Linked DNA regions of Homo sapiens: region 2 is linked to region 1. The links are contacts of gene promoters, found by promoter capture Hi-C in blood cells and fetal thymus (Javierre and others, 2016). All regions are on one chromosome and are shown on one strand. The core of a region is centred on a gene start or on the middle of the fragment in contact, and the rest is flanking DNA. Distances in the headings are between cores, read along the strand shown. Region 1 holds the start of CPEB2 (cytoplasmic polyadenylation element binding protein 2). Region 2 holds the start of QDPR (quinoid dihydropteridine reductase).

Region 1 (6,149 bases), core at 2,583-5,082:
CTCAGATGATCATTAGCACTTTTTAGCAGTATTTTTAAATTAATGTGTGTATATTTTTCAGAATAATGCTACTGTGCACTTATTTAAATGTAATTACAAGTTATGTTTAGACTATAATTGAGAACTTATGTTTAGAGTATAATATACTGTAAACATAACTTTTACATGCACTGGGAAACCAAAAAATTGGTGTGACTTGCTTTATTGGGATATTTGCTTTATTGTGGTAATCTGGAACAAAACCCACGGTATCTCTAGGTTATGCCAGTAATTTAAAGGTAGGACAAGCAACATGTTCTGATGGCTTGGATATGATGCAAGAAGGACAGAAGTGGATTGAAGTGAAGAATGACTCCAGGGTTTTTGGCCTGAGCAACCAGAACAATGGAGCGCCACAGGGATTGGGCCTAGTGAGGCAGGGAGTTTAATTTTTGACGTGTTTAATTTGAGGTATCTATGAGACACTCAGTCAAATGGGCAAGTCGTTCAGGCAATGTAAAAGCAGAAAAAGAAGGCAGTAGCTAAAGGAGGGAGAATATAAGGTCAAAAGGTTTTGGCTTTACTTTTCAAAGGTGAGAACTAGTAAAGCAAGTTTTTGTGCACATGGAAGTGTTTCCTGGAGAGGAAAGAGGTCATGATGAAGGACAGAGAGAGAAAACTGTTGGAGCCCATGTCTTGAGTAGGTTAGAGGTAGGATCTGCTCCGCCAGTGGAGAGGCTGGCCTTAGACAGGAGTATGGGCAGATGGGCCATCCATTGTATCGAGAGGGAAGGCAAGGTGTGCAGGGACAGATGCAGGGAGACTGTGGAAGTTTTCCTGTGGTTGCTTCTTTTTTCTCAGTGAAATAAGCATGTAGCTCAGCAGCTGAGAGTGCTACATGCTAGCAGATGCATGTAGGAGAGATGTGACAAGAGGTTTTCAGATTGAGCAGAATGTTTGAAATGGTCTAGGACAGTGGTTTTTCAGTTCATAATCTGATAGAGGGTGTTAAAACCAACTTTGTAATTTGAGATCAAACGTGATTTTAAAATGAAAATAGAATTATAAAAAGGAGTTTGTTGCATTATTAAAAGAATTGCTTAATAGCAGCTTTATTTCAGTTGCATGAGTGTGTACTTGCACATATATTGGGTTGTAGCAAAAATACTTTTAAAAATACTTGCCCAGGACAGTGGGAGTAAATGAATAAGGGACTGTCAAATACAAAGTCAAGGTCCTAGTTAATGATCATGAGTCAAAATATTTTCATGTAAAAAACCAAAAAAATCATTGAATGGACTCATAAGATCTTGGCATGGAAACTGCTAGAGGACCATAGTCCCTCCTCAGTATTTGCTGCTCCTTCTCCCTACCCCACTCCACTCTCCACCCTAGGAAACCTTTTCATTTGAATATTTTCAATAAGGGCAAGATCACCAGCTTACAAGATGTCAGAAAGTAACTTTCTGCTCTAAAAAAATGGGGCCCTCACAAAAGTAGTGAGTAGAGGCCCTGGCAGGATTTGGAATTTGGTGTATTTAATATGAAGTTTGACATTATTATGTAATAACAAACTTGATGGCTTTTCCCCGTTTCAGAGAGCTCTAAATCCTCTAAGACAAAACTAGTACCAGAGCACTAAGAAATCTTGTTTTTGTTCAAAACTCTAGCCCAGAAAGGCACCAGTTAGCTTTTAAAAGTATGTGCTCTCTCCTCTTTACTAACTGCGGTGTTAGTGGATAATTGAGCTAAGGTTTATACCTGTATTTTCCCCCTATTTCAAGATTTGTTGTTGGATCTGCAAATGATTCCAATCAAATACAACTGTACTTGGAAAAAAATCATCCGTTGTTAAGACTTTACATTCCTTAGTTGCAGAAGTAGTTTTTTTTCCTGCACAATACCTTTTAAAAAATGAATATTTAATATGTCAATATATACTCTGAAAATAACCATTTATATTTTAAATTCTGAGCTCAGGTTATTTTCTAGACATTGTAATTTAGAATAAAAATACTTCTCCAGTTCTACATTTTGCCTGACTGTTAAAAATGATTTTGAGATTAATAAGTTGAACCAATTTTCTATTCACCTGACCAAATTCTGAACCATTTGAGTTTTTTAAAAAGTACTTTTTCCTTATTGTAAAGGCAACATAAAACTTGGTTCATTGGACAGGATAGCAGAGATAAACATTATACATGAAGTATAGTTCCCTGGGGCAATGTTGCTCTCTTTCTACCATGTTTATTTCGATTTATATAAATTTGAGACACTGAACAGAAGTAGAATTCAAATAGAGAATGAGGACTTATAAAAATGTACACTCTGCCTACATCAGTAAGAGTATGCTAATTTATAAAATTAAATATTTAATCTTAGTTCACTTGTAAACCAAAATCAAGTAAAGTCTGAATCCACCTTCTATTGCTTTGGGGGTTTGAGTCTATATTCTAGGATTCATTTAATAGTTTCATTTCTCTAAGCATCAAGCAAAACAGTTAAAATTACAAAACAGAAACATAAAGTTCACCTCATCATGTAGTATGGATCACTCTGTTATTCTTTATCTAGACCTTCAAATACTTTATGTAAAATGTTTCTATACAAAAGGAAACACAGGATTAGTTCCTCCTCTAATGCTTCTAAAGAGCTCTACCATGGAAAGCTCTCTCCCTTCCATTTTGCAAGTCTCAACAAGTCTGCTGCTGAGTCAGAACCTCCTTTTTTCCCTGATGTAAGAACTATTTCTCCCTTGAAAATTCATAAAGCTTAGGAATAAATTAGAGTCTCCCTGGGGGGAAGGGGCGGGGACGCCGGAATGAATGTGGTGGGGAGGAGTCCCACGCTGCAGCCCTGATGGCACACGAAAGGCTTTTATGAAGCGGAGCTGGCCCGGGGTTACTATGGGAGCTCGCCGTGGAACCCGTTCCACGCATCCGAGTGTGTAAATAACCACGCGGAGCGTGTTTGTTCCAGGGACTTTGTTCCTTCTTACCCAAGTGAAAATGCCTGGAATATAGCCGAGGCTTCATGTTTACCCTACAGAAACACCCTCGGCGGCTCTACGACGTCGGTGACAGCACTCCTACCAGCGCCTAAAAACAGAAACAAGCTTAGAGGGCGCTACCTAGGGCTACAAGGAGGCCCTAGATCGGGGACTCGGGGTCTAGAGGTGCGCGGCGAGGCGCTCAGCGGACTTCAAGCCGGCAGAGCCCAGACGCTAGTTCACCACAGGACCCCCGGGCTGGGCCGGGCTCCCGCGTTGCGCTGGGGGCCCCTCGGGCGCCTATTTCTACGCGGGTCGCACAGTGCAGGCGCCGGTCGGGGTCCCGGGCCTCAGTTTCCCCCGCGGGCCAGCCCCGCTCTGGGAAGCCCGAGTGGTGCAGCAGGGCTTCTCCCCACCCAGGGCGGAACCGAGGTGACAGGAAGGAGGAGGCACCGCGAGGGGCGGAGACGCGTGCGACCCAGGCAGACTCTGCGCGGATCCCGCGCCAAGGAGGGGCCGTTGCCCAGGAACCGTCCCTCCCTCCCGCGCGTGCTTGCCCTCGTGCGCGCGCCCGCCCAATGCTCCCGACCACTGTTTGCCAGCCGACCCCCACCCCAACCGGCCTGTCCATTTCCCCGGGAGCGGAGAGACCCAACGGGACACGCCGCTCGCTCCCGCCCTCCCGGGAGCGCGAGCGCGCCCTCGGCTGCGTCTGCATAGTAATGAGGGGCGGGGAGGGGCGACGGGGACGCGGTGGCCTCGCGCCCGCGCGTGCCGGGACGCACCGCGGGGGGCGGCGCGATTGTGAGGTGGCGCTGACGCACGTTCCGGGGTTCTTAAGCGGCCAGGGCGGCTACGGCGACTGCGACGGCGGCGGCGGCGGCGATCGCCGCGAGGGGTGGTGGGGCCGAAGTCGGTGCCCCCTGGCTCAGTCACGGTGTCCCTCTCTCACTGACTCCCCCTCCTTCCACCACGGCCGCGCAACCCCAGCGCCGGCGGCTTCCTAGGTGGGGCAGGGGACGAGGAGCGTCTCCTCCCGCTGCCGGCGGCCTGATAAATGAGGGATTTCGGGTTTGGGGTGCTGCAGACCGCCCCGCTCCGAAGTAGCAGTCCTGGGCCCCTGTTCTGCGGCGAGGCGTATGGTCCTTACGCCGTGGGGTCCGTCAACCCGCTGCCCTCCGCCACGCCCTTCGGCCCACTGTCGCCACCACCGTTGCCTGTCACCGGCTTCTTAGAGGCCGCCTCCCCCTTCTCCGTCCCCCTCGGCGGCGGCGCGGGCAGCCCGGCCGCCGCCGCTTCCTCTTCCTCCCCGTTCCTGGCGCATCAGCAGACCATGCAGGATGAGCTGCTTCTGGGGCTGACACAGCAGCCGGCGCGGCCGCTTTCGGGGGCGGCGGCCACGGAGAAACTCCCCGACCACCACCCCGGCGGCGGCACGATCGCGGGTGTGACCCACCTCCTCCCCTCCCAGGACTTCAAACCGAGTCTGCACCACCCCTCCTCCTCCTCCGCCTCCTCCTGCTGCTGCTGCCGCACCTCCTCCCCGCAGGACTTCAGTAAGCGGCAGCAGCAGCAGCTGAGCAGCCAGAAGAGGAAAGAGTTCAGCCCTCCCCACCTTCCCCACCCTCCGGACTCGAAGCCGCCGCCGCCGCCTCCGCCGCTCCACTGCCCCGGTCGGTTCAGCCCGCCGCCGCCGCCAGCCGGCCCGCTCCTCCAGCCGGCGCAGCTCGCTCAGCGCCAGCAGCAACAGCCGCCGCAGCAGTTCAGCCTCCTGCATCAGCAGCACCTCTCGCCGCAGGACTTCGCCCCGCGGCAGCGTCCGGCAGACCTGCCCCCGCTCCCGCAGCTCCCTCCCTCGCCGCCTGCAGCCCCGCGGCGCCGCCACGGAGGCGCGGGCAGCCCTCGCAAGACCCCAGCCGCGGGCGAGGGCAGCGCCGCCGAGTCCCCCAATGCGGGCTTGGCCTCCTCGACGCCGGTGAACCCCGCGCCGGGCTCCATGGAGTCCCCCAACCACCCTCTGCTCAACAGTCCCAGTAACCTCCTGCCCGGAGGTGCGCTTGGCGCGGGCGCCTTCAGCAGCCTGCAGAGCCCGGACCTTCCACACCCGGGCGGCGGCGGCGGCGGCGGGGGCGGGGGGCCCCCAGGAGGCGGAGGGGGAGGCGGCTCCGCGTCGCCGCCGCCGCTGCCCGGCTTCGGCACCCCCTGGTCGGTGCAGACCGCGTCGCCGCCACCCCAGCCCCAGCAGCCGCCGCCGACCCAGCCGCAGCAGCAGCCGCCGCCACCCCAGCAGCCGCCCCAGCCGCAGCCGCAGCCGCCCGGCTCGTCTGCCACCACCCCGGGCGGCGGCAGCGGCGGCTCGCTCAGCGCCATGCCGCCGCCCAGCCCCGACTCAGAGAACGGCTTCTACCCCGGGCTGCCGTCGTCCATGAACCCGGCCTTCTTCCCTAGCTTCTCGCCCGTGTCGCCGCACGGCTGCACTGGGCTCAGCGTTCCGACGAGCGGCGGCGGCGGCGGCGGCTTCGGCGGCCCCTTCTCGGCTACCGCTGTGCCCCCTCCGCCGCCGCCCGCCATGAATATACCTCAACAGCAGCCCCCGCCGCCCGCGGCGCCGCAGCAGCCGCAGAGCCGGAGGTCGCCCGTCAGCCCGCAGCTCCAGCAGCAGCACCAGGCGGCGGCCGCCGCCTTCCTGCAGCAGAGGAACTCCTATAACCACCACCAGGTACGGCGGGCGGCGGCCTGGCCGCGCCGCGGGACCGGGAGACCATGGGCGGGGGACGGAGGCGGGGGCAGGGCAGCCGGGGACCCGACCTTAGCCCCGAGAGAAGCCGCGACGGGGGCCACTCGCCCAAGTGAGAGTGGAACTGAGGGCGGACAACCGTGACAGGACTCGGAACCCCAGCCCCCGGTGGGTTGGGAGGGCAGTGGCCACCGTGGGCTGTGGGGGCGTGGGAGACGAGTTCGCGCTGGGAGCCGCGGCTGGCCGGGCGCCCCCTCGAACGTCCCGGCGCAGCAGTGGGGACTGGGGCAGGGGCCGAATAGCGCCGGGGCCGCGGGCGGCCGGGCGCGGCGTCTCAACCCGGCCCTCCTAGCTGGCGCACCCCGGGATCCGCCCTGTGCCCTGGGCCTGGAGGGCCGCCGCCCCGGACCCCCGACGCGGGGAGGCGCGGCGAGGACCGGGGGC
Region 2 (5,635 bases), core at 1,784-4,283, 2.5 Mb after region 1:
CTGAGGCAGGAGAATTGCTTCAACCCAGGAGGCAAAGGTTGCAGTGAACGGAGATCATGCCACTGCACTCCAGCCTGGGCGACAGAGCAAGACTCCGTCTCGGGGAAAAAAAGAAATAAAAGGAAGAACATACAGCCAAAGGAAGAACATACAGCCAGTGGTCACCTCTCCCCAGGGTTCCCCTCACAATGTTTGGGGGCCTTTTTGAAACTACCTGGTCAGCCTGCTCAGTGAACGAGTCTGTCATTTTAACAATGATGCTAGCGCTGGCCTCTTCATTCTCCACCACATCAACGCTGGCAACCCACTGGAAGGAGAAAACAGCTTTGGTTAAGAGGCAGTGAGTTGTTATTCCATGAAAGAGTCACACATAGAAATGAGGGGAGTTGGCCAGGTGTAGTGGTTCACGTCTGTAATGCCAGCACTTTGGGAGCCAATGTGGGAGGATCTCTTGAGGCCAAGAGTTTGAGACCAGCCTGGGCAACATAGCAAGACCCAGTCCCTACAAAAAAATTTTAAAATTAGTCAGGTGTGGTGGCACATGCCTGTAGCCCCAGCTACCCGGGAGGTTGAGGCGAGAGGATCACTTGAGCTCAGTGAGCTATGATCGCACCACTGTACTCCGGGCTAGGCAACAGAAGGAGGCCTTATCTCCATTTAAATAAAAGAAAAAGAAAAAGAAAGAAAAATAAAGGAGCAGAGTGGAGACAGGTAAGAGGCTTCAATGAAAACACACCCTATATTGGGCTCCATCCCAGGCCCTCCTACCTCCAAACACTCTACTCCGCCTCCACATTCACCTCTAAAACACAAACCCTGCACTTCTAGAGACATCAAGGGCCAGCAAATTTTCTGTAAAGGGCCAGATCACAATTACCTTAGGCTTTGCTGGCCATATGGTATCTGTTGTTACTCAAATCTGCAATTGTAACAGAACACAGCAATAAATAGGGGGAAAAAATAAGTGCAGCTGTGTTCCAATAAATCTTCAGAGCTGAAATGTGAATTTCATTAATTTTCATATACAACAAAATATAATTCTTCATTTGATTTTCTTTTCAACCACCTGAAAATGTAAAACTATTCTTAACTCTTGGGCTGTACAAAAACAGGTGGCAGACCAGATTCAGCTCACAAAGGATCCCTGTCCTGCAGCAGAGAGGGATGGACTTTAGGATTGGAAATCAGACAGATCAGGTTTGAATCCCAGCTCTGCCAGAGTGGCTTTCTCACTCCGATGCCGGGCAGAGGTTCCCAACAAAAGAGGTTGTTTGTTGATGATTAACAGGGTCAGTGTAAGAATTAAATGAAATGGAAGATGCTAAAGCTCCTGGCACAGGGGATGTTCAGTCCTTACTCAGGGTCTCTTGGTCTGAAGTCCCCAGAGATAATTATCTCTACCTTAAGCTGTAAACACAGCATCTATTCATCAACATTTGTTATATTATTAATTAACTTGTTATCCCATGGGGGATACTGAAACAATGAAAAGTCTCCATCATCCTAGCCCTCCCTAAGATGGCAGGAAGAAGCTCGGAGGGGAAAGACCAAGAGCCAGAGGTAAATCAGCTCTCCAGATTCTGCCAAGACCAAGGTAAACCAAAGTGCCACCACCAGGAGAAAGCACAGCCTTCACCCTCTAACACATGACGCTAACAGGATCTACTGCCTTAAAGATATTGGGGGCATTAAGAGTCTATGGGAACTCTGGTACTGGGAACACAGTGCCTGGCCCTTGGCAGAAGTGCTGCCTCTGTCACCACCATGCATCTCTGAAGACCTGGGAAAGCGCCCTCATCAGTGTCCCCAAGCACTGAGCAGATGGGTGGCAGGAAGGGAGTGGTGTGACTGAATTCTTCAGAAGCATATTCCTGTACCAGATTCTGAGCAACAAGAAAACCTTGGTAAATGTACACTATTTGGGTGATGGTTACACTAAAAGCCCAGACTTCACCACTACACAACATATCCATGTAACTAAACTGTACTTTTGCCCCCTTCATCTATAAAAATTAGATAGTTTTTTTTTAAAGAAAATCCTGAAAGCCTTTTTCTGGTCCCAGGGGAACTCTTGCCCAGGCTGCTGTGCTGCTGCTGCTAACTAAGCTCCCAGAACGCTGCCGCTGGCAGTGTCTCCACCGGGAAATTGCTGAGGCCTGCTGAGCGGCTGAGGTCAAGGGTCTTTGGCCATGTATCAGCTCTGCTCCGACTTGCCGCCTCCTGGAAATTGACACCTGACTATGCAAAGTAGTTGAAATAGTCTTTGCAGAGCAAAGAAGCCGTCAGCGTTTTTCCGTGCTGAGCCTTCAAACTGTCAGATCCAATGGGGCTAAAAGAACAGGGGTGGGTAGTAATAGTAACATTAATAGACAGCATTTAAACAGTTTTTACCAGGCGTCAGGTAATTTATGTGCAACGACACCAATTATCTCATCTAATCGTCCCAACTCTCACTGTCAGAATCTCCGTTGTACAAATGGGGAAACCGAGGTCCTACGGCGTTAGGTAATCAATACGCGGTCTCATGACTAGTAACCGGGACTGGGCTGTCTCATTCTAGAGCCTTCCTTCTACACTCTCTCTCCGTCCTCTCACCCCTGCTCCCGTTCCTCCCCTTTGGAATTCTCTCCCGAGTCACGCCGGACTTTTTGGGTCTGGCGGAGGCCCACGGAGCACCTCCTTGCACAGCAAAGGCCCAGCGCCCTGGGACTGGCGTGCGCACGCACTCGGAAACAGGAATAGACGCGTAGACCTGTGCGCGCACGTGCAAGCAACACGAGTCAGGGGGTGCACAGGGGCCCCCACCTTCCTCTAGACTGCCCCCCGCCGGGTTCCACACGAAAGCCCCCGGCCACCCCCGCGGAGACCCAGCAGCCCCAGCCCGCAGCATTACCCAGTTGCGGGCCCGAAAAGCCTGCACGCATCGAGAACCCAGAGCGCCCCTGCCGCCGTACACCAGCACCCGGCGCGCCTCGCCTGCAGCCGCCGCCGCCGCCATCCTGCTCCTGCCAGCCCGGCTCCCGCAGCTCCGAATGCCTCGAGCCGGAGCGCCGCGCCCCGCCCCGGCCGGCCAACCCCGCCAAGAGGGAACGCGCGGCGGCCGCGCCCCGCTCCGCGCCCGCTGCTGCCGCCTAGCGCGCTGCCACGCTCGGGGCGCCCCGCCACCCGGAGGGACTGTAACTTCGGCCAGGCCCTGCCCCTGGGACGGGGACATCGGCGAAGCCCCTCCTCCCACCCGCCAGCAAGTGCTGGGCCTCGGGGCGTGCAGCGAGCCGGGCTAAGGGCGAGGAGGGTGGAGAGCGGGTGTTTTACGAGCATTAATTTGTGAAGTGTAAGCATGTAAAATATAGTATAGTACAATTTTCGACCACTGTTTTGGCAATTTTTTATTTTTAATTGTGCATCAAAATAGAGATTTAAGTATTCCCACCTGCCAAAAAAACAGAAGAGGTCGCTCCGCTCAAGGAGCTGAAAGTCCACCGCCGAGACGAGACAAACCACACTAGGTCTTATTTCTTCTATCTAACCGTAAATTTATACCCATTAATCCAAATGGCCCTTTTACTATATGCCACCCATCGCCAGACACAGATCCTGGCATTTTCTCCCTTGTATATTAGTTATTTCTGCCCATGGCCTGTATCTTTAACACAGAGCCTCTCATCTACAGCACTACTGACATTTTGGGCCAGATAATTATTTGTGACAGGTGCTGCCCTGGGTACTGTAGGATATTTACAGCATCCCTGGCCTGCATATACTAGAAATCAATAGCAAACCCCTACCCCTCACTCATAAGAATCAAAAATATCTCCAGATTTAACAGTTGTCTCCTAGGGGCAAATTCATCACTGATAGAGAACCAGAGCTCTAACACTCTCATAACCTTCTTGATAGCAGAACCCTGTATTACATACATCTTTGTGTCACTTCCCATCCACATATAACCTTGTACACAGCAGACACAGATGTTTGTTCAGTAAACTTGTGCCAGGTAAAGCATGCAGAAATATGTCACTAGAGAAGAGGATGCAGCCAGCAGCACATTTTGTTGTCAGAAGCTTCATTATCAGAAATAGAACTGCTAGGAGGCTGGATGGAGAGGAGAGCACCATCTATTTAGTGCTCCTTATATCCAAGGCACTGCGCTAAGTGATCTGCCTGTGCTATTTCACTTTACTCCACACGATAATCCTATGCAGATTAGAAAGCTGAGGCATGAGAGTCACAGACACTTGTCTGGAAGAGTGGGAATTTGAACACAGGTCTTCAATAGCTAGAGTTCCACTTAACCACACCTTTGTTCAGCAAGACAAAGGCTTGTTGGGAATCAAGTGTTTCCCTTAGAGTTTTTCTGAAAACAATTGCTTAACCCTCAAAACACCAAAAGTTGACACAGGTCCCTCACTGACGGCAGAAATATGACTCAATGATATTTACGCAAGTCCTGACTTGTCAAAGCATGCTTAATGTTAAAATAAGAACGTGAACTAACATTATTGATCACTTAATGTGCCAAGCAGTCTTCTGAGCCTTTTATATGTATTCTGTTATTTTTTACCAGAAAAACATTTGCTGTTTCAAAGTCACTGGGATGAAGATGAGCTGTTGTAATTCAAAGACCTGAATTTCAGCCCCAGCACTGACATCCAGTTTTTCATGAGAGAAATGGCTGAAATCGTGCATCTCCTGTTTACCTTAAAGGGTTGCTGGAGCATCAGAGGTGAGCAAGCATATGGTCAAAGCATTTTGCATTTTGTACATGGTAAAGTGCCACTCATCTGTATATATAGTAAGAGACAGGATCTCACTCTGTTACTCAGAGTGGCATGATCATAGCTCACTACAGCCTTGAGCTCCTGGGCTGGAGCAGTCTTCCAGCCTCAGCCTCCAGTAGCTGGGACTACAAATACACGCCATCAGGCCCAACTATTTTTTTTTTTTATTTTTTGTAGAGATAAGGTCTCACTACATTGCCCAGGCTCAGAAATTCTCATTTTTATTTTCATTGTGGAGTGGCCACTGAAGTGAGCCCCAGTTGCGAGGAAGGAAACTGACATTTCCATTAATGTGTCCCTCTGCTTCCTTGACACTCTCCAAGTGAGATTCCTGGGACCCCTATTGGTTAACAGTGCAACTTCCTGAACCCCCCTTCAGGCTTCTGTGACCAACTAAGAAATTTTACTGCTCCACTTTTGCCCAACTTTGCTCCCCAGAGATATGGATAGAGTGACTGTTGCCAGTCTCACATGATGTTAAGTTGATATTCAGGAATAAGGTAAAAGTCAAAATGTCAAAGTCCACAGTATAAGATAGAAAGGAAAGAATATTTCATTCCTAGTATCTACAGATTAAAAGGAAAGCCTAGATCTTCCACTATTAGAAGAGATGAATACCCCAGCAGTGTGGCTACTATTTGCTAATACACTAGAAAAACACTTTTCTCTCCCATTTCAGATAACGTAGAAGGAGGGACGGGTGAGAGCAATGTTAAGTGTTGGATTCCAGGCTACCCCAACAGCCACAAAGTAATTCTAGTCACAGTTTACCCCCAGCAGATTCACACAGTGAGAAATTCATAAGGCCCTATTTACACATTTCAATATTAAAGCCCCAAGAACCGGGGTCATTTGAT

What was found. Contacts are between HindIII fragments. The CHiCAGO score rates a contact against its expected background, and 5 or more counts as called.
Region 2: a contact is called between the fragment with the promoter of QDPR here and the fragment with the promoter of CPEB2 in region 1, in 2 of 17 cell types (non-activated CD4 T cells and naive CD8 T cells). The highest score is 5.9, in non-activated CD4 T cells.

What each region holds. Positions count from the first base shown.
Region 1 is chr4:14,998,649-15,004,797 of GRCh38, forward strand. It overlaps CPEB2 (cytoplasmic polyadenylation element binding protein 2), which reads left to right and starts at 3,833. Exons shown (of 12, transcript NM_001177382.2): 1 at 3,833-5,687. The coding sequence starts at 4,026. CPEB2-DT (CPEB2 divergent transcript) reads right to left here and starts at 3,397. Exons shown (of 8, transcript NR_038857.1): 1 at 3,290-3,397; 2 at 2,978-3,077; 3 at 2,513-2,581. RefSeq lists enhancers at 2,822-2,871, 5,713-6,149 and silencers at 3,112-3,971, 4,472-4,781, 4,832-4,981, 5,082-5,291, 5,672-6,149. The HindIII fragment of the contact is 6,054 bases long and covers 3,093-6,149 here.
Region 2 is chr4:17,509,057-17,514,691 of GRCh38, forward strand. It overlaps QDPR (quinoid dihydropteridine reductase), which reads right to left and starts at 3,034. Exons shown (of 7, transcript NM_000320.3): 1 at 2,894-3,034; 2 at 215-307. The coding sequence starts at 2,998. RefSeq lists a silencer at 2,663-3,242. The HindIII fragment of the contact is 4,464 bases long and covers 1-4,059 here.